Linked DNA regions of Homo sapiens: regions 1, 2, 3, 4, 5 and 6 are each linked to region 7. Evidence: promoter capture Hi-C in human tissues and cell types (Jung and others, 2019). All regions are on one chromosome and are shown on one strand. Each heading gives the region's core, a stretch centred on a gene start or on the middle of the fragment in contact. The rest is flanking DNA. Distances are from core to core; before and after follow the strand shown.

What was found. Contacts are between HindIII fragments. The study calls those that stand out against the background at their distance.
Region 1: a contact is called between a fragment that was not itself captured here and the fragment with the promoter of S1PR3 in region 7, in 1 of the 25 tissues and cell types used here (dorsolateral prefrontal cortex).
Region 2: a fragment that was not itself captured here is called in contact with the fragment with the promoter of S1PR3 in region 7 in 1 of the 25 tissues and cell types used here (aorta).
Region 3: a fragment that was not itself captured here is called in contact with the fragment with the promoter of S1PR3 in region 7 in 2 of the 25 tissues and cell types used here (mesendoderm cells and thymus).
Region 4: a fragment that was not itself captured here is called in contact with the fragment with the promoter of S1PR3 in region 7 in 3 of the 25 tissues and cell types used here (dorsolateral prefrontal cortex, lymphoblastoid cells and mesenchymal stem cells).
Region 5: a contact is called between a fragment that was not itself captured here and the fragment with the promoter of S1PR3 in region 7, in 4 of the 25 tissues and cell types used here (dorsolateral prefrontal cortex, heart left ventricle, pancreas and 1 more).
Region 6: a fragment that was not itself captured here is called in contact with the fragment with the promoter of S1PR3 in region 7 in 1 of the 25 tissues and cell types used here (dorsolateral prefrontal cortex).

Annotation. Positions count from the first base shown.
Region 1 is chr9:88,371,524-88,374,231 of GRCh38, forward strand. No RefSeq gene overlaps it. Among named protein-coding and RNA genes, the nearest start is that of SPIN1, 16 kb to the right of the region's middle. The HindIII fragment of the contact is 7,070 bases long and covers 1-2,708 here.
Region 2 is chr9:88,197,347-88,200,144 of GRCh38, forward strand. No RefSeq gene overlaps it. Among named protein-coding and RNA genes, the nearest start is that of SPATA31C2, 60 kb to the left of the region's middle. The HindIII fragment of the contact is 3,061 bases long and covers 1-2,798 here.
Region 3 is chr9:88,308,845-88,311,544 of GRCh38, forward strand. No RefSeq gene overlaps it. Among named protein-coding and RNA genes, the nearest start is that of SPIN1, 78 kb to the right of the region's middle. The HindIII fragment of the contact is 7,995 bases long and covers 1-2,700 here.
Region 4 is chr9:88,398,993-88,401,741 of GRCh38, forward strand. All of the region lies in intron 1 of SPIN1 (spindlin 1), which reads left to right. Among named protein-coding and RNA genes, the nearest start is that of SPIN1, 12 kb to the left of the region's middle. The HindIII fragment of the contact is 9,312 bases long and covers 1-2,749 here.
Region 5 is chr9:88,421,052-88,423,755 of GRCh38, forward strand. All of the region lies in intron 1 of SPIN1 (spindlin 1), which reads left to right. Among named protein-coding and RNA genes, the nearest start is that of SPIN1, 34 kb to the left of the region's middle. The HindIII fragment of the contact is 4,331 bases long and covers 1-2,704 here.
Region 6 is chr9:88,084,433-88,087,451 of GRCh38, forward strand. No RefSeq gene overlaps it. Among named protein-coding and RNA genes, the nearest start is that of LINC03026, 8.0 kb to the left of the region's middle. The HindIII fragment of the contact is 5,231 bases long and covers 1-3,019 here.
Region 7 is chr9:88,990,216-88,992,915 of GRCh38, forward strand. S1PR3 (sphingosine-1-phosphate receptor 3) reads left to right here and starts at 1,253. Exons shown (of 2, transcript NM_005226.4): 1 at 1,253-1,480. RefSeq lists a silencer at 799-1,093. The HindIII fragment of the contact is 13,055 bases long and covers 1-2,700 here.

The DNA of each region.
Region 1 (2,708 bases), core at 46-2,545, 620 kb before region 7:
AGTGTTTCTGAACATGAGAGTAGAAAAATGCATTATCTTAGTATGGGAAAGATGTTTCTAAACATTGTAAAAACTAAAGAAGCAGTGTAAGAAAATAGTGCCAAATTTGATTATACACAAATTTTAGGCCAGGTATGGTGGCTCATGCCTGTAATCCCAGCACTTCAGGAGGCTAAGGCACGAGGATAACTTGAGCCCAGGAGTTTGAGACTGCAAGACCTCCTCTCTACAAAAAATAGCAAATTGGCTAGGGCATGATGTTATGTGCCTGGGACCTCATTTACTTGGAACGCTGAGGTGGGTGGATTGCTTGAGCCCTAGAGGTTGAGGACACAGTGAGCTGATGATTGCACCACTGCAGGAAAATAAATACCATAAACAAAATAAAAACCGAAATAAAAAATTGGTTAAAAATTTTGCTACATATGTGACAACAGACTAATATTCTTCAACATGTAAGGAGTTCCTGTAAATCAAGGAAAAAAGACAAAATCCAAATAGATTAGACCACAACATGGACAATTTACAAGAAATAAATTTCCAATTTTTTTTGTTTTATTCTCTTAACAGCTTTTTTGAGATACATTTCATGTACTATATACTTTACTCATTTAAATCATACAATTCAGCTTTTATATATTCATACTTATGCATCTATTATCATAATCAATTTTGGAATATTTTTATTACTCCAGAAAGAAATGTAAGCACTTGACAAGTTCTTCCTGCCCATTGTGTAACTGCCCAGCGGGTTCACCTTGCCCTCTGCCTAGACAGAGCTGATTTATTAAGACAGGGGAATGGCAATACAGAAAGAGTAATTCACTCAGAGCCAGCTGTCCAGGAGACTAGAGTGTTATTATTACTCAAATCAGTCTCCCTGAGCATTCAGGGAGCAGAGTTTTTAAGGACAATTTTGTGGGTTGGGAAAAGCCGGTGAGCTGGGAGTGCTGATTGGTAGGGGATGAAATCACTGGGAGTGAGAGCTGTCTTCTTGGACTGAGTCAGTTCCTGGTTGGGGAAAATAAGATCAGATGAGCCAGTTTATTGATCTGGGTGGAGCCAGCTGACACATCAAGTGCAGGGTCTGCAAAATATCTCAAGCTCTGATCTTAGGAGCAACTTAGAGAGGGTCAGAATCTTGTAGCCTCCAGCTGCATGACTCCTAAACCATAATTTCTAATCTTATGGCTAACGTTAGTCCTACAAAGGCAGTCTAGTCCCCAGGCAAGAAGGAGGTCTGCTTTGGGAAAAGGACTATTAGGGTCTTTGTTTTAAACTATAAACTTTAAACTATAAACTATAAATTAAGTTTTTCCCAAAGTTAGTTCAGCCTACCCCCAGGAATGAACAAGGACAGCTTGGAGATTAGAAGCAAGATGGAGTTGGTTAGGTTAGATCTCTTTCACTGTCTCAGTCATAATTTTACAAAGATGGTTTCAATTGCAAAGACAAAATTATAATAATTCACTGAGACCACGAAATTGCAGTAAAGGAAGACTTCAATTGATGTGAGGCTGGTCACATCACATGAGAGACGGAGTTACTACTCAAATCAATATTACCAAAGGCTTAAAGGTTAGGGTGTTTTAAAGATAGTTCGGTGGGCAGGGAGTGAGGTTATAGGTGCTGATGATTGGTTGAGGATTCAATCATAGGGGTATGGAAAATGATCCTTATGTCTGAGTCGGCTTCTTGGTGGGTGCCCCAGGACTGGCTGAGTCATGGGCCTGGGTGGGGCTATCTAGTAGTAAAAAATGCAAAGTCTGGAAAGACATTTCAAAACGCCAATCTTAGGGTCTACGTAGTGATGTTATTTACAGGAATAATTGGGGAAGTTGCTAATCTTGTGACCTCTGGAATAATGTCTGGTAGCCATTTAAGTAATTTTGCAAAGGCAGTTTCAGAAACCATGTACTCCTTAGCCATTACCCCTCAATTCCCCATTCCCCCCAGTCCTAGGCATCAATATAATTTGTCTCTATGAATTTGTCTTTCAATTCATGAATATAGGATGCTTTTAAACTTATTTTGGACTTTAATTACCTTCAACATTATTTTATTCTTTTGGAATCTGTTATAAGTAGAATTGTTTTCTTAACTTCATTTTCAGTTTGTTCATTGCTACTGTATAGAAATACAACTGATTTTTATATATTGATCATACATCCTAAAACCTTGCTGAACTCATTTATTAGTTCTAAGAGTTTTTTTTTTTTTTTTTTTTTGAGACAGAGTTTCGCTCTTGTTGCCCAGGCTGGAGTGCAATGGCACTATCTCCTGAGTAGCTGTGATTACAGGCATGTGCCACCACACACGGCTAATTTTGTATTTTTAGTAGAGATGGGGTTTCTCCGTGTTGGTCAGGCTGGTCTCGAACTCCTGACCTCAGGTGATCCGCCTGCCTCAGCCTCCCAAAGTGCTGGGATTACAGGCATGAGCCACCGCATCTGGCCTGTTAGTTCTAAGAGTTTTTTAGAGGATTCCTTAGGAACAAATTACTTTTAAATATATGAAAAGAGATCAACTTCTCCTATACTAATAAGATAAATGCAAATCCAGATTACCACAGGATATGATAAATTCACCTACTAAATTGGCAGATCTAAAATTTTGATATCATTGTGTAGATGATATCATTGTGTAGGTGTTGTATCTATTAAGACAAATACTCATACTTTGTCTTCAGAATTCTGAAACCGCCATTG
Region 2 (2,798 bases), core at 185-2,684, 790 kb before region 7:
TCTTTCCTTCCTTTGCTGAGTCAAACTCAATTGTGTGTTACTTCTACAAACATTTTGTTATAAATATTTTCAAACATACACAAAAATAAAGGAAGTATAAAATGAATCTTCACGTATTTATTACCCAGTTTCAAGTATAAACATTTTGCCAATCTTGTTTTATCTACTCTCCACCCCTTCCTCTCCTCACCACTCAATGTTTCTCTGGATCATTTTAAGGCAAATTCCAGGTTTTCAGTCTTAAATGTATCACGTCTGTCTAAAAATAAGCACTTAAAAAAAACCTAATCACAGCACATTATCATACTTTCCCAAATTAATATTTCTTGATTTCATCTAATACCCAGTTTGTTTTAAAATTTTCTCAAAAATAACTTTATGCAGTTGGTGTGTTCAAATAGGCTCTATGCAAAGTCTACATCGTGCATTTGATAAATCTCTTAAGCTCTTTCAATATGTGATACTTCCCCTTCTTCTTTCTGGCTTTCAGGCCATATGTTTGGTCTGCTCAATTTTCCACAGTCTGGATCTTGATGAATTGCATTCTTATGGTGTAACTAACACATTCTTTTGCTTCTTGTATTTCCTGTAAGCTGATGTTTACATTTAGAGGCTTGTTTAGACGCAGGTTTGAATTTTTTTAGCATGAAAGTTCCAGTTGCACTGCAGAATGTCTGGTGATCCCAGGTTTAGCACTTTTGAGGTTGATCAGTTAAAAAGTAGCTGTTTGGGAGGCAAAGGGCACATGTTAGTCGCCTTTGCATGCCCATTGTCAAGCACAGCATTGTGCCTAGAGCAATCCCTGGCAATGTTTACTGAGTTGAAGCAGTTGATGAAACCCAGATTTGTGAGACTTCAGATACAAATCTTCTATTCTCAGCTGAGATGCCTAAACTTTATTAATTCACATCTGTATGTTGTAAAAGTTCTATTTTATTTTACGACCTTAGCCAGTTTTGACCAGTTCACCTTGGCTGCGGTTGTTTCTGTTTCATCTTTTTCTCATAAATAGTGTCAACCTTAAATAATGAGATTCAGAAAATATGACTAAGGATAGAGTTTATTCGAGTGCAAAGCTTGAGGATAGCCACTCATGAAGCGTCAGCTCCAAATGAATATGGTCAGCATTCCCAAGTGGAGAAGTTAAGGTTTCACTTTTACAGACAGAGACAAAGACATTTTCAGAGGATTACAACATTTTCTATAGGAGACCAGTGCATACATTAAAGCAATTTGATTGGTCACAGATTGCTACGTGCCAAGGAAGATTACTTTATTACTCAATGAGGAGGGATGGTGATCTGAGGAGGTCTTCTCTCTCGTGCTGTTTGGTCTTCTTAATTATTCACAGGGGGAAAAAAAGGCGGAAGTTGCCGCTGCACGTGACTCAGGCTGCATAGCCACATTTGTCTCAAGGCTCAGAATAACTTAAAGTTCCAACAACTTGAAGTTTGAATTATTTAATTTCACAATAGAAATTAAAACAAAGATTTTAACGTTTCTTAATAAGAAGAAGCCATCTTCATGCGAATTGTGAAATTTTTAAATTAAATATATTTTTAAAGTTAGTAATTTACTCAAGCGTTGTTTAGACATTGTTTTAGAAACTGGTATCTTGAGTGTCTATGCTTGTCATCTTTCATGATGAATGGTCCCTGTTTATTTGCAAAACTTGCCAATCTGCCAAAGCTTTATTTGCTGGGAAGTTAGCATGTCTGGGAAAGTAACACTTTCTTTTTGCTTTAGTAACGTATAAATATTTTTAAAAAAGGATATACATATTTTTAGGAAAATATTCTTAGCAAACCCAAGATTGAGATCTATGAGTTCATTTTTCCCCTATTTTTCTACACCTTTAAAAAAATTCCCCTTTGGAGATTGAAACAGGAGAAAGGGTAGGGCCCAATATCACACAGGGACAAGAGTTGAGCCTGGGAGAGTCTTGTATTCAGGACCCAAACTGGGTGCAGGGCTGGCTCATTAGGAGTTGAAATGCCTCTGCACCAGTCACGGGTGGAAATAGGTGCATTCACATGAACATGGTTGCATCAGCTTCATCCACAGGAGCCCTGAACCCGTCATTAACCTGTGATCTGGTTGGAATCTATGTACCCTATGGGTCAATGTGAAATTACTTCTCAGGGAGGCAACCACAGCTGAGGGAGTCCACAAGGTAAAATTTCCACAGAAGATAAACTCACATGTAAGAACTGCAAAAAACATACAAGAATGTCTAGTATTGTGACAATAGTAAACCCAGGTCTGCTGCATACAGACCGTACAATTGTAGGTGTGTAATTCACATTGATCACAATTGCACACTCATACACACACCCCATGCAAAACCTTACGGTAGGAATTCTAAAGTGACCTGATAAAAATATTGAATCCTCAAATTGATAACGTAGAGAATGACATTTGTGGAACAAGAACATTCAAAATTTTTAAATGCCATTATGGCAAGGGAACAGATGAGTATTTTTAAAAAATCAGATCTCTGGCCTGGAGTGGTGGCTCACGGGGCCAAGGTGGGTGGATAACTTGAGGTCAGGAGTTCAAGACAGACCAGGCTGGCCAACATGGTGAAACCCCATCTCTACTAAAAATACAAACATTAGCTGGGCATGATGGCACGTGCCTGTAATCCCAGCTACTCGGGAGGCTGAGGCAGGAGAATCACTTGAACCGGGGAGGTGGAGGTTACAGTGAACAGAGATTGATCCACTGCACTCCAGCCTGGGCAACAGAGTGAGGCTCTGTCTCAAAAAAAAAAAAAAAAAAAAAAGAAAGAAAGAAAG
Region 3 (2,700 bases), core at 40-2,539, 680 kb before region 7:
CGGTTTTGGGTGGTCTGCCATGAGCAACAGAAAGCAGAACAACATGCAGCTTGGAGGATATGGAAAAGCCAATTCTCCTTACATCATCCCAGGATTTTCAGATGGTGCTTTTTTAGGAACTAGAGGTTCTTCCAGTACTCAGGACCACACAGGATGAAAAGCTGAGGGAAAATGCCTGTCCCCACCACCTTCCAACCAGAATAGCCGTGGTTTTCATCTGTTTTGGTTACTTCTGAGAAGAAAAATTTCCCATGAAGAAAGAGGTTCTCTGGTTTCTGAGCATTCTTAGGCTTGAACAATGCTGGAACACTCCGCAATTTAAAAAAACTAGATAAGGAAACTGAGGTCCATGAGGGGAGGCCCCAGGCCTGGAGGCAAGCTCCAAATAACATAGAAGCCGTTCTGGTCCACTTGCAATTTTGATTATTTCATGCCCAGTGACCCATTTTATCCCACAAATCAAGAGAAGAAACAAGCTTTGTTCCTGCCTTCTAAATTTAGCCCGTTAGGCTGGCAACTAAACTGTGTTAGGCGGTCTCCAAGCAATACACCTGTGTTTCTCATTACGTCTTTCATTTCCATGGTTTTGATCCTTTCCCACTTTGGGAACCAATTTCCTTATCACATTTGAATAACTTCAGTGGTGAGCCAAAAAACAACCAGGATATTCACACTTAAATTCATAGCATTCAAAATCTAATGTAGTGATTCTCACTGTGTATTTTATTTTTCAAACAAGAGGGGGCCTAATTACAATAGACTCACACAGATTGCTTAATATCTAGTGCTAGGCTTTTACTGATAAGACATCACATGCAAAGCACGTTGAAATACAGCTGATGTGTCCATCAGCATGGGCGATACTCAGAAATACTCACAACTATCAAATTGCTCAGATCCCTCAAACACAGAATCTCACTCTCTTGCCCAGGCTGGTGTGCAGTGGCGCTGTCTTGGCTCACTGTAACTTCCGTCTCTTGGATTCGAGTGATTCTCCTGCCTGAGCCTCCCAAGTAGCTGGGATTACAGGCATGCACCACCGTGCCCAGCTATTTTTTTTTTTTTTTTTTGTATTTGTAGTAGAGACGGGGTTTTGAGATGGAGTCTCACTCTGTCACCCAGGCTGGAGTGCAGTGGTGTGATCTCAGCTCACTGCAACCACCACCTCCTGGGTTCAAGCGATTCTCTTGCCTTCCGAGTAGCTGGGATTACAGGCATTTGCCACCACACCTAGCTAGTTTTTGTATTTTTCGTAGAGATGGGGTTTTGCCATGTTGGCCAGGCTGGTCTCAAACCCCTGACCTCAGGTGATCTGCCTACCTCGGCCTCACAAAGTGCTAGGATTACAGGCATGAGCTACTGCGCCCGGCCACAAAGTTGATAAGTTCTAAGCAGAGACTGGAAGAGGAAGAAAACACTTAGTGCATTGTTCGGCAAAGAAATACTTTAGAGATAATGAAGTATTTATATTAAACATAATCTCCCCTTTTTCTACATCTCTGGGTCATAATGTCGAACAGCTGCTGTTTCTCTGTCACACGGTGATGACGTTTTCATAAATGGCGGAGGTTTATTTGCTACCTTCATCTCGTAGTGGGACATAGGAAGTCATGGAGGAGGGGTGTTTTGGCCAAACAGAACATGGAGCGATGATTCCTGGGCCTAAATGGAAACAGACCACGCTGGGGCGCTATTAGGAAACTTCACATGCATTGACTGGATAAGCAAGAAATAGAGAAGTGCCTCTCCTCTATCCAATATTCCAGAGCCTTAGCCATAGGTCACCATACCTCACACAGGGCCAAAGAATCTTGTAATACACTGATTAGTCAACATTTGTATGCAGACAGATCCCTGTAAAAAATATTCTCCAGAGCCCTGTACCCCCATTGTACCCCTGTTGGGTGGTCAGGCCGCCTAGAGCTGAGATCAGGCTCACTGCCTTGATGTCAGGAGGTGGAGGAGGAGCAGTCGCCCTGGAACCAGTGGGTTCTTTCCCTACCTCCCTTTCATACTTGTTCCTCACTGCCTCTAGGGCTAACAGCATGCCTAAACTCTAGCTTGCCAAGTGCCTTTGGCCATTTCCTCACTTCATCCTTATTTTAAATTTGTACAATTTCATATCTCTATAAAGCAGACATTTGAATGACAACTGGAAAGTGATTTCAGTTCAGTCTAGTCTTCTTAATGGAAATTCCTTGTGACTCTACATTTTACTTATTTGACCCCAAATCCTTTTTTTCTTTGTCTTTTCTTGTTCTTTCTTTCTTTTTCCGAGTATCTCTCAGAAGTAGCATTTCAAAGATTCAGGAGGCCGGGTGTGGTGGCTCATGCCTGTAAGCCCAGCACTTTGGGAGGCCGAGGTGGGTGGATCATGAGGTCAGGAGTTCAAGACCATCCTGGCCAACATGGTGAAACCCTGTCTCTACTAAAAATACAAAAATTAGCCAGTCATGGTGGCGAGCACCTGTAATCCCAGCTACTCAGGAGGCTGAGCAGGAGAATTGCTTGAACCTGGGAGGCAGAAGTTGCAGTGAGCCGAGATTGTGTCACTGCACTCTACCGTGGGCAACAGAGTGAGACTCCGTCTCAAAAAAAAAAAAAAAAAAAAAAAAGATTCAGGAAACCTGTGTCAGGAATCACTAACTCAGAATGCAGTCCTCAAATCCCAGCTGAGTTCCTCTACAGCCTATTAGGACT
Region 4 (2,749 bases), core at 142-2,641, 590 kb before region 7:
GTGATTTGAGTTCACACAGTGTAGGAGGAGCTGGCTTAAGCAGTTTTTTTTTTTTTTGAGATGGAGTCTTGCTCTATTGCCCAGGCTGGAGTGCAGTGGCACAATCTTGGCTCACTGCAACCTCCGCCTCCTGGGTTCAAGCGATTCTCCTGCCTCAGCCTCCCGAGTAGCTGGGACTACAGGCGTGCGCCACCATGCCTGGCTAGTTTTTTTGTATTTTTAGTGGAGACGGGGTTTCACCATGTTGGCCAGGCTGGTCTTGAACTCCTGACCTCGTGATCCACCCGCCTCGGCCTCCCAAAGTGCTGGGATTACAGGCGTGAGCCACCGTGCCCAGCCGTTAAGCGGTTTCTGTCAGGCTGTTGTCTTTGTGATTGATGCTGGAGTTTGAAGTCCACAGGGCAGTCATTTGAGAAAGGAAGATGGATGTAAAGTGGGGAAGAAGAGGACACAGGAAGCCACAGGCAAGGTACATGGAAACCATGCTAGTTCTAGTTGCCTTTGTTCCTGCTTGTGTGGGTGGCCTGTAAGAGTTGGATCCTTGGCAAATGTAGCCCAGGAGGCAGAGAAGCTTAAGGAGAGCCCAGAGGAAGGTGGAGTGGATGCAGCTGCAATTCTAGGCCAACCACTGCCTCACACGAATGGGGTGAGTCAGAAGATGAGCAGCAACAGTGTGTGCAAGCTGCAGGGTGGTTGCTTTATCTTCTGCACCCTTCAGTTGCTGCACAAAAATCTCTTGTGAGCCATGCAAGTTGGAAACATAAAGGAAAGGAAATTCTGGGGAATGTAGTTCAGCTCAGCCAAGTTCAAACCATACAAAGCAGAATGATCAGCTCAGGCTTTTAAATTTTTAGCTCAGGCTACACGTAAGGGACCCGAAGGTTTCTGTGACTGCTCTAAAAATGCAAATGTAATTCCTAATTTGTGGGTGAGATCATTGATTGGTAGGAATGGAATCCTGAAAATTGGATTGGAGGCATATGGTCAGATTCTGTTTAAGCTGGAGTCCTTAAATCCTTAAATGCTGCTCTGCTGCCTTTCCCGGAGAAGCAGCCTTTCCAACCCTTCCCAGAGGAACTTAATCTCCGTTTGCCTGAAAAACCTGTAATTGGCCTCCCTTTGGGTAGTTGCCCAGCACGGTACTGTCTTCCTCAGAATCTGCCCTGTAATCCTTCTTTCTTGTAGATCTGTGGCTGGACTGTAGTTGCAGCAGGCCCCAGAGAGTGAGGTGACCCATGAGAAAGGTATGCTGCACTCTAAAAGATTGTATAGTTTTGCCACTGTATAGTCAGGAGCCTGGAGGAGTATTTGATTTGTGGCAATGGATCTTAGGGGTATAGTATAACAGTGGAAGGAACATAAAGTTGAATCAGGCAGAATTTATTGATGTGGGCTCACTAAGCAGAGATTCTGGGTTCAGTGTTATAGTTCAAGGAGATAGAAAGGACTCTTAACAGTTGGGTTAATTGACTGAGGCCCATCCACAAGGCCTGATGCCTCGGTTAGATTTTTTCTGGCCTAACAAGGAACTCCACTGACCATTCACTCACCTTCTATGAGAGTCTATATTTGGCCTGGCGTGATGGCTAATACCTGTAATCCCAGCACTTTGGGAGGCCAAGGCAGGAGGATCACCTGAGGTAAGGAGTTTGAGACCAGCCTGGCCAACATGGCGATACCTCATCTCTACTAAAAATACAAAAATTAAGCGGATATCATGGCCCATGCCTTAATCCCAGCTACTCGGCAGGCTGAGGCAGGAGAATCGCTTGAGCCCAGGAGGCAGAGGTTGCAGTGAGCCAAGATCATGCCACTGCACTCTAGCTGGGGTGACAGAGCGAGACTCCGCCTCAAAAAAAAAAAAAAAAAAATTAGCCGGGTGTGGTGGCTTGTGCCTGTAGTTTTAGTTACTCGGGAGGCTGAGGTGGGAGGATCAGTTGAGCTGGGGAAGTCGAGGCTGCGGTGAGCCATGATCGTGCAACTGCGCTCCAGCCTGGGCAACAGAGTGAGATTCTAATAAAATATTAGTTCATAAGGAAAGGTTCACCTAAATGCATAGCCCTTAAATAACTTGCATTGTTGGTGGAACTGTACTTTGCTAGGACCTTTTTGGAGGATGGCTGCACTAAAACAGAATTTAAAATGCATGTGCTCTGTTGATCCAGCAGTTTCACTGCTAGGATTTTATTGTATAGATGAATTTGGACAGTATACAAATACGTTATGTTTAAGGTTTTTCATTATATCAGTGTTTGTGATCGAGAAAAATTAGAAACAACTGTCCAATAATGGAGTTAAGGTAGAGTAAATGACCATTATACCCATACACTGGAATATTGTGCCACTGTTAATAATAAGAGGTTGATAGGAAAAAAAATTCATACAGCCATCCCTCCATATCAGGGAATTGGTTCCAGGACCCACACTCCGCCTGCCTCCCCGCCTGCACCCCACCCCATGGATACCAAAATCCATGGATGCTCAAGTTTCTTATATAAAATGGTGTAGTATTTGCATATAATCTATGCATATCTTTCTGTATACTTTAATCTCTAAATTACTCCTAGTATGTAATACAGTGTAAATGCTATACAAATAGTTATACTGTATTGTTGAGGGAATAACTACAAGGAAAAAACTTTATGTGTTTGGTACAGATGAAACCATCATTTCCCAAATGTTGAAAATCTGAGGTTAGTTGAATCCACAGATGTGGAGCTGAAGGGATAAGAGGCCAAGGGCCAACTAT
Region 5 (2,704 bases), core at 21-2,520, 570 kb before region 7:
GTAATTTTGTCTTTTGATATTTATGTTAACCCTCATGTATGTATTGTTTTCTTTCCCTGAATTATTTGAAGTTAACTTACAGAAATTGTGAGTCTACCTCTTTAAGCATTTCAACATGTTTCCAAAGAATATATTCTCAGGCATAACCACAATGTCTTTGTTGTGCTTTTAAAATTTAATGATAATCTTACAATATCTAATGTTTAGTCTGCATTTAAATTTTCCCAGTTGTCTTAAATGTGTGTGTGTGTGTGTCTGTGTGTTTTTTCTTTTGATACAGGGTCTCAGTTGCCCAAGCCGAAGTGCAGTGGCTCGATCATGGCTCACTGCAGCCTTAACCTCCTGGTCTCATGTGATCCTCCTACCTCAGCCTCCTGAGTAGCTGGTAGCTGGTACTACAGATGTGCACCACCACCCACAGCTATCCTTACTGTGTTGATTGATCACTTGAACTCCTGGGCTCAAGTGATCTACTCCTCAGCCTTCCAAAGGATTAGGATTACAGGCATGAGCCATTGTGCCTGGCCTTAAGTGTCTTTTGTAGCTTTCGCCAGCCCCCTCCCCCCGCCCCAACAAACCGTGTGTTTAGGGTTTATTCATTGTGTCTTATTGTTGAGTCTTTAGTCTCTTTTAGTCTAGAGCAGTATGTCTACCATTTTTCTTTTTTGACACTGACTTTTTGAAGAGTATGGCCCACTTTTCATGTACAAAGTCCACCTTTCTAATTTGTCTGTTTCCTCATGGTGTTGTCTAAGTTGCTTCTGCATCACCTGTATTTCTGTAAACTAGAAATTCGATCTAAAAGCTTGACTAGATTTTTTTTTTAATATATTTTATATTGCCACATTTCACCTGGAGGTAAAACATTTTTGACGAGTATTTTATAAGTGATATAGTCTGCTTTGCGTCATATCACATTAAGAAGTGAATAAAGCAAGGTTGATTCCCTTTTAATGATGCCAAATTGTTTTATCTTTCAATTCCGTTGTAGTGAAGGGTCAAGATTGCTCCATTGTAAAGCAGTAACATTTTCCCCTTTATAATTAACGAGTAACCTGTGGAGTTACTTGTTTTGATACCGTACAATTATTGTTCTCCAGCAACCTTTCTCTTGATAGTTTTAGCAACTATTGATGGGTCTCTCTGAATGCAGGACCTTCTTCTTAATGACCTTATAATAAAGCTCCATTTGACAATATTTTCCGTAACACTTGAAGGTTCTGCTAACCTAGAAATAATGCTAACTCTGAATCTAAAATTTTTTTGTTTCCTTCAGTTTTTTCCTTCAGTTTTCATTTACAAAGTTAATCACTTAGTAGAATAACTTAAGGTGAAGATGGTATATCTTTAAAAAAACCTGAGCAAATTAAATTTAGCCTTTTCCAGTCAAAGAAGAGTGGGATTTGTTTTAGAAAAGCTCTAGTTCATCTGAATTTTGAAAGCCTTACATGGCAGCTGTTAAAACCAGGGTTTTCATTAGTTAGCACTCATTAGTGTTTTCCTTTTGATCTGTCTCTGCATTTCTTTCTGGTCTTAACAGGAGTTAGGATAAGATCAGGTGGTTGAACTATTTATTACTTGCAACTCAAAAAAGAGAAAGGACTCTAAAATTTTATTTTATTTTTTAGATTACATCTCAACATGAGGGAAGGACTCTTTTTTCTTTTTTTTTTTTGAAATGAAGTCTTGCTCTTGTCGCCCAGGCTGGAGTGCAGTGGCACTATCTCAGCTTACTGCAACCTCTGCCTCCCGGGTTCAGGCGATTCTCCTGCCTCAGCCTCTGGAGTAGCTGGGATTACAGCTGCCCACCACCATGCCTGGCTAATTTTTGTATTTTTAGAGGAGACCGAGTTTCACTATGTTGGCCAGGCTGGTCTTGAACTCCTGACCTCAGGTGATCGTCCACCTCGGCCTCCCAAAATGCTGGGATTACAGGCGTGAGCCACCACACCCAGCTGAGGGAAGGACTCTTATCTGGAGTTTTGCGTTCTAATATTATTCAAATAGCCACCATGTATCCTTCCCCCACTGCGACTCTTCCTTCTACTCCTGTCTTAAATTTTTAGTTTATTAACAAGTTCAACTTGAAATTTTAATGAAGTGGAAAACAGCAGAAAATACTGCTAAGATAAGCTTAAATCTGATAGGAGGGTACATACTTCAGAATATCAGTAAGTTAAAATTTTCATTTCATTGAATGAATTTGTTAGGATAAATTGATTTTATGTAGTTTTAAAATTTCTTTAATCTGGCTGGGTGCAGTGGCTCAGGCAGAATTTTTTTTCTTGATCTTTGAAGTCATTCTGTAAATAGCACAGAAAGGGAGTGGAGTCATGGGATGTTTTTTAAAATTGGGAAATACTACATTATGGTTTGTGGGTTTTTTGTTTGTTTGTTTGTTTGTTTTGTGACAGTCTTGCTCTGTCACCCAGGCTGTAGTGCAGTGGTGCGATCTCGGCTCACTCTAACCTCTGCCTCCCGAGTTCAAGCAGTTCTCCTGCCTCAGCCTCCTAAGTAGCTGGGATTACAGGTATGCACCACCACACCTGGCTAATTTTTGTATTTTTAGTAGAGACCGGGTCTCGAACTCCTGGCCTCAGGTGATCTGCCCACCTCGGTCCCCCAAAGTGCTGGGATTACAGGTGTGAACCACTGTGCCCAGCCTACATCATGTATTTTTTTTTTTTTTTTAATAAAAAGCTCT
Region 6 (3,019 bases), core at 42-2,541, 910 kb before region 7:
GTTGCAGAGAAGAAGGCAATAAGTTCTATGGTCTCGTTTCCTGTCTGTTAAAATGGTTTTCGTGAAGGAGGTAAGATGTCAAGAATGACGTGTGAGACACTGGGAGCTCCTTTCTGGCTGGCAGTCAGTTGGAGCAGGGATTGGAAATGTGAGTGGACTAACCCTCCTGAATGGTGATGATGTGCCTGGGAAAGGGTCCTGATCCAGACCCCAAGAGAGGGTTCTTGGATCTCATGCAAGAAAGAATTTGGGGTGAGTCCATAAAGTGAAAGCCAGTGTATTAAGAAAGTAAAGGAATGAAAGAACAATGACTCCATAGGCAGAGCAGCCCCAAAGGCTACTGCTTGGCTATTTTTATAGTTATTTCTTGATTGTATGCTAAACAAGGGGTGACTTATTCTTGGGTTTTCGGGAAAAAGGGGTGAGCAATTCCTGGAACTGGGAGTTTCTCCCTTTTTTAGACCATATAGGGTAACTTCCAGATGTTGCCATGGCATTTGTAAACTGTTGTGGTGCTGGTGGGAGTGTCTTTTAGCATGCTTATGTATTATTATTAGCACATAATGAGCAGTGAGGACAACCAGAGGTCACTTTCATCACCACCTTGGTTTTGGTAGGATTTGGCCAGCTTCTTTACCACAGCCTTTCATCAGCAAGGTCTTTGTGATCTGTATCTTGTGCTGACCTCCTGTCTCTCCTGTAACTTAGAATGCCTAACCTCCTGGGAATGCAGCCCAGTGGATCTCAGCCTTATTTTATCTAGCCCCTATTCAAGATGGAGTTGTTCTGGTTCAAATGCCTCTGACAATGAGAGGGCAGATGGGGGCTGGAGGAGACCAAACCCCAGCAGCCGGGGTGTCCAAGGCCATTGGCTCTCGTCCCACCGAGCACTGGGTGGAAGTTGAGTCTATACTGGAGAGTACGATAGTGTATCTAGATCAAAGTGCTTTGAGTTCAGAACGAGGAAAAAGAGCCTTATGAAAAACGATGGGACTTAATTATTTTTCTGGACTATTTATCCTTCGTTTGTCTTTCTACATAAAGACAAATTCCAAAGAATATTCATTGATTCATTGATTTAAATAATTTTCTAGTGGGAAATTCAGCACTTAGTTTCTAGAGGAATGAAAGGTACATGCCTGAAAGGACTTCTCTCTCGTTAAAAAGTGTGATTAGGGGATTACCCAGAATGCTCTGCGTTGCATTTCCCTGTGGCTTTCATTACAGCCGCTCCTTCCTCAGCAGGTTCCATAATTATACAAATGTCTTAGCATTTCAAGTGTTTCATTATTCATTTGTTGCTCACCAAGATCACCTAAGGCCTATTCAGCTGCAGAGATGACTCGCTCAATTCACTGGCTGTGGGTTTAATTTTTGATTTGGGTCTTTTATGTTTCGTAGGAAAGATGAAAATGAAAGATAGCATTTTATGCTTGCAGACTTAGCTTTTATTCTTTATAGTCTTTATATGTGATCCTACAGACTGTTCAGTGCTTGATTCTAGTTGTACTTGCTTGCAAATGGTAGGCCCCATCATTGTAAGCAATTTTGTCTACTTGAAATATCTAATTTACTGTCATTCCTTCATCTAAGCAACAGTCTCTTCCCCATCCTTTGGGTCTCAAGGCCATGGTACCATCTGCTTCTTCTATTTAATCATTCTGTAATAAAATGTTCAGTGAAACTCATTTCGGAATCCCAATTTTGAATAACAAATGTTATTTATTTATTTATTTATTTTTTGAGACGGAGTTTCGCTCTTGTTTCCCAAGCTGGAGTGCAATGGCACAATCTCGGCTCACCACAACCTCCATCTCCCGGATTCAAGCAATTCTCCTGCCTCAGACTCCTGAGTAGCTGGGATTACAGGCATGCGCCACCACACCCAGCTAATTTTGTATTTTTAGTATAGACGGGGTTTATCCACGTTGGTCAGGCTGGTCTTGAACTCCCAACCTCAGGTGATCTGCCCACCTTGGCCTCCCAAAGTGCTGGGATTACAGGCGTGAGCCACCACGCCCGGCCAACAAATGTTATTTATATATAACTTCTAAAAAAATTTATACGGTGCTTCTCAGCGATATGTATATGGAGGAATGATTCAGTCATGTGAAACAGATAAAAGAGATAAATCCTTTTGACAAACAACAAGAAGCTAACATCTTTTCAGTGGTTTAATTAATCATTTGGCTGTTTTAATTGTCATTTAGAAGAGTTCAGAAATTCAAATACTTATGGAGTCAAGCAAATATAAATGTGTGTTGTGCTGGGATATATAAAACAATAAGAATGAAGTGAAACACACTTATAATCGCACCACATTTTTCGAAAATTAACCTTTTATTTAGAGAAAATTGTGTACTCACTTGCAGTTTTAAGAAATAATACAGAGAGATCCTGAGTATCCTTCACTGAGTTTCTCCCAATGGTAACATCTTGTAAAACAAGTATCACGGTAGGATGTTGATGCTGGCATAGTCAAGATACAGAACATTCCCAGCACTCCAGGGATCCCTCATATTAATCATTTTTGGCCCCTGGCTTTCCCATCCCAACCCTAACCCTGGGCAATCACTAATCTTCACTAGATTATTCCCCATTTCTATAATTTTGTAATTTCATTTTTTCTTTCTTAATTTTGTAATTTTGAGAATGATATATAAACAATCATATAGTACGTTACCTGTGGCTTTTTTTTTTTTACACTCAGTGTAACTGCCTTGTGATTCATACAAGTTGTTGCATGAATAGTTTGTTGATTGCTGAGAAGTAGTCCATGATATGGATGTACCAGAGCTTGTTTAACCATTCATCCAATGAAAAACCTCTGGTTTGCTTCTAGTTTTCGGTTGTTACAAATAAAGCTGCTCTGAGCATTCACATATAGGCTGTTTTTTTTTTTTTTGAGACAGAGTTTCGCTCTGTCAGCCTGGCCAGAGTGCAGTGGCACGATCTTGGCTCACTGCAACCTCCGCCTCCCAGGTTCAAGCGATTCTCCTGCCTTAGACCCCCCAAATAG
Region 7 (2,700 bases), core at 3-2,502:
GCTTGCGTTTCTCTGCAGGGAACAGGAGTGCCGCCGACTTCCACTCTTGGTGCCCTTCACCGCTCAAACTGCACCCCAAATAAGCGTATGCACCCTGCTCCAAGAGAAGGATGCGCTGGGCTGATCCTCTGGAGGCAAGAGGGCAAAAGACAGAAAGTAACGAGCGGCCTTTGCACAAACTCAACTCTCTGCAGCGGCCCCTGCGGCCCAATCCTGCCGGCCCAGGAATGCACGGTCGGATAACAGGCCTCTCCTTGCTTTTTCGTCTTCTTCCTCCCGCTTCTCTCCTCTCTCCTTTTCCTCCTCCTCCTTTTTCTTTAATTTTCTCCTTTCTCCCCAAGCTTCTACAGTTGTTTCTGTGTTCGCTCAATCATGGCCTTTGGCATTGATTGAAAATTTGGCAGTTCCTTCTCTCGGAATTCTGTTTGAAGCCTTCATATGGATTTATTATTATTATTATTATTTTTGCCACACAAAAGGGGCAAATCCGCGTGAGGAAGGGGGTCGCATGGGGGTCGGCTGAGATCTGCTGGCTGCCGGTCTAGGAGGGGCGCTGCTCTGTGCCGGAGTGGGCTCTGGTGCACCAGCAGAGGCTGGGGGAGAGTGCTGCCCCCGCCTGGAGCCCAAGTCTCTGCGTGCCTGGGGGTAGAGCGCGGAGAGGGACCAGGCAGGCGCCGGAGGGGACCCGCGCGGAAAAGGAAGAAGCCCAAACAAAAACGCTGTCCGGCGCCAGGCGCCCACCTGCAAGCCCAAGCCGGTGCTCGGCCAGTTACAAAAGAAATGGTCAGGATCTGGACAACGATAATGATAGTATTAATCCTCCTATTAAGAATCGGCCCAAACAAACCCTCGCTGTCAGGGCGACAGGCGCCCGCCCAAGCCCAGACCTCGGACCTGGTTCCAAGCCTGTTCCCGCTGGGTCTCTGGGCGCCCGGTTTCTGCACCTGGAGCTCGCCCGATGAGGACAAGGTCTGGAGGCCGGCCTGGGAACAGGGGCCGAAGGGCGAGCCGGACCCTAGGGGATTGGTAGGGTCGGGGAGAAGGGGTCCAGGCTAGGGGCGGGCGGGGCGCACGGAGACCAGGCGGCTTGAGCGGGAGGTGGGGAGCTGGAGGAGTGCCGGGTTCGCGGGCGGGGGACGGGGAGAGGGGGGCGGGGAGAGGGGCGGGAGTCGGGGGCGGCGAGGGGAGGGGCGGAGCGCGGGTCCCGCCCCGGCGGGCCGCTGGAAAAGTTTAGTCTCTGACTCGCTCGGGCAGAGGCCGAGGAAGCCGGTTCCGGGGACGGGCAACAGGGACTCAGGGACCAGAAGGCGGCTGCAGGACGCGACCGAGCAGGACCCCAGGCCCGGGAACGACGTCGCGAGCGCTGAGACTGCCGGGCCTCCCAGCCCATCTGGCATTCGAGCGCAGGACCGGGCGCCCCGGCACCGCCGCGCGCCACCCGCTAGGATGCCGGTGGCCCCAGCGCCCTCAGCCGACGGAGGTGAGAGGCGGGCCCGGGCGGGGCGCGGAACCAGGGTGGGGGGCTGGGGGCCGAAGGACCCACCTTTCCAACAAAATCCCCACCGATCCCGGGCGCGACGGGGACTTGGGCGCGCCACGGCGGCCGGAGCGCTCCACATCAGCACCCCTCCCCCAGAGCCGCTGCAGGAACAGGGAGGAGGCCTTTTCCACCGCACCCGGAGCGTTTACAACGGGCTGGAGCTGAATACCTGGATGAAAGTGGAGAGGCTGTTCGTGGAGAAGTTCCATCAGTCGTTTTCCTTGGACAATTAACAAGTTAGGCTTCCACAGTGCCAGGGCCTGGGGATGCTGGACGTGGGAGAGGGTTGTGGTCGTTAGCCTGGGAAAATCATTCTTTTAAACAATATTCGCCGGAAAATTAGTTTTTTCCTAACATTTCTCAAACAAGGCAATTAGGGCCGTCAGAATCGGTGCTGGAAGACGAAGTCCCCACAGTGCAATAATGAGGTTCCCACGGAAAATCAGTACGTTGTGTTCGTAACTGAGATAACAGCTAGAGAAGGGGCTTTGGGCTTTTTGAGTCTCCCAATAGTCAGTCTCTCTCTCTCTCTCTCTCTCTCTCTTCCTCTGACTTTCTGGCTTTGGACACTCCCAATGGTATATTTCTTTGTGGTGTTTTTATATTTGGATATAAGAGAGGAACTTCTTGTTGGATTTTTAAGGGAACACACTTCGTTTTGACCCTTCCAATAAGGAAAGGGGAGCTACAGGAACAGAGAGCTCTTTAGAAGGTTACTTTTAAATGGAGGCCCCCCCATTCATGGTACCCACTCCCACTTGGACCTCTGAGACCTCCAGAATTAGGCATCATTCTAAAATCTGGACATTAGAAGTCACAGACTTTGTATATAACCACATATTCATAATTTATCTTTTCAATGTTTTTTATTCATAGATGAAAATCTTGCAGGCATAGTTAAGAAAAATATAATTCCTAGAAAGTACAAGGGAAGGATTATGCTCTGCAGATACATGACTAACAAGGATAGCTGGCCATGCCCAGGGCTGGTGTTGGTTGAGGAGGTGGTGATGGTGCGGGGCATGTGTGTGTGTGTGTGTGTGTGCGCTTGAGGAGTTGTGGAAGTGTTCATATCTGTAAAGTATTATTTCATGGATGCAGACCTTAATGCTAGGTTGAATAACTTTGTTGCCATAGAAGAAGAACCGCACGTCAGGCTT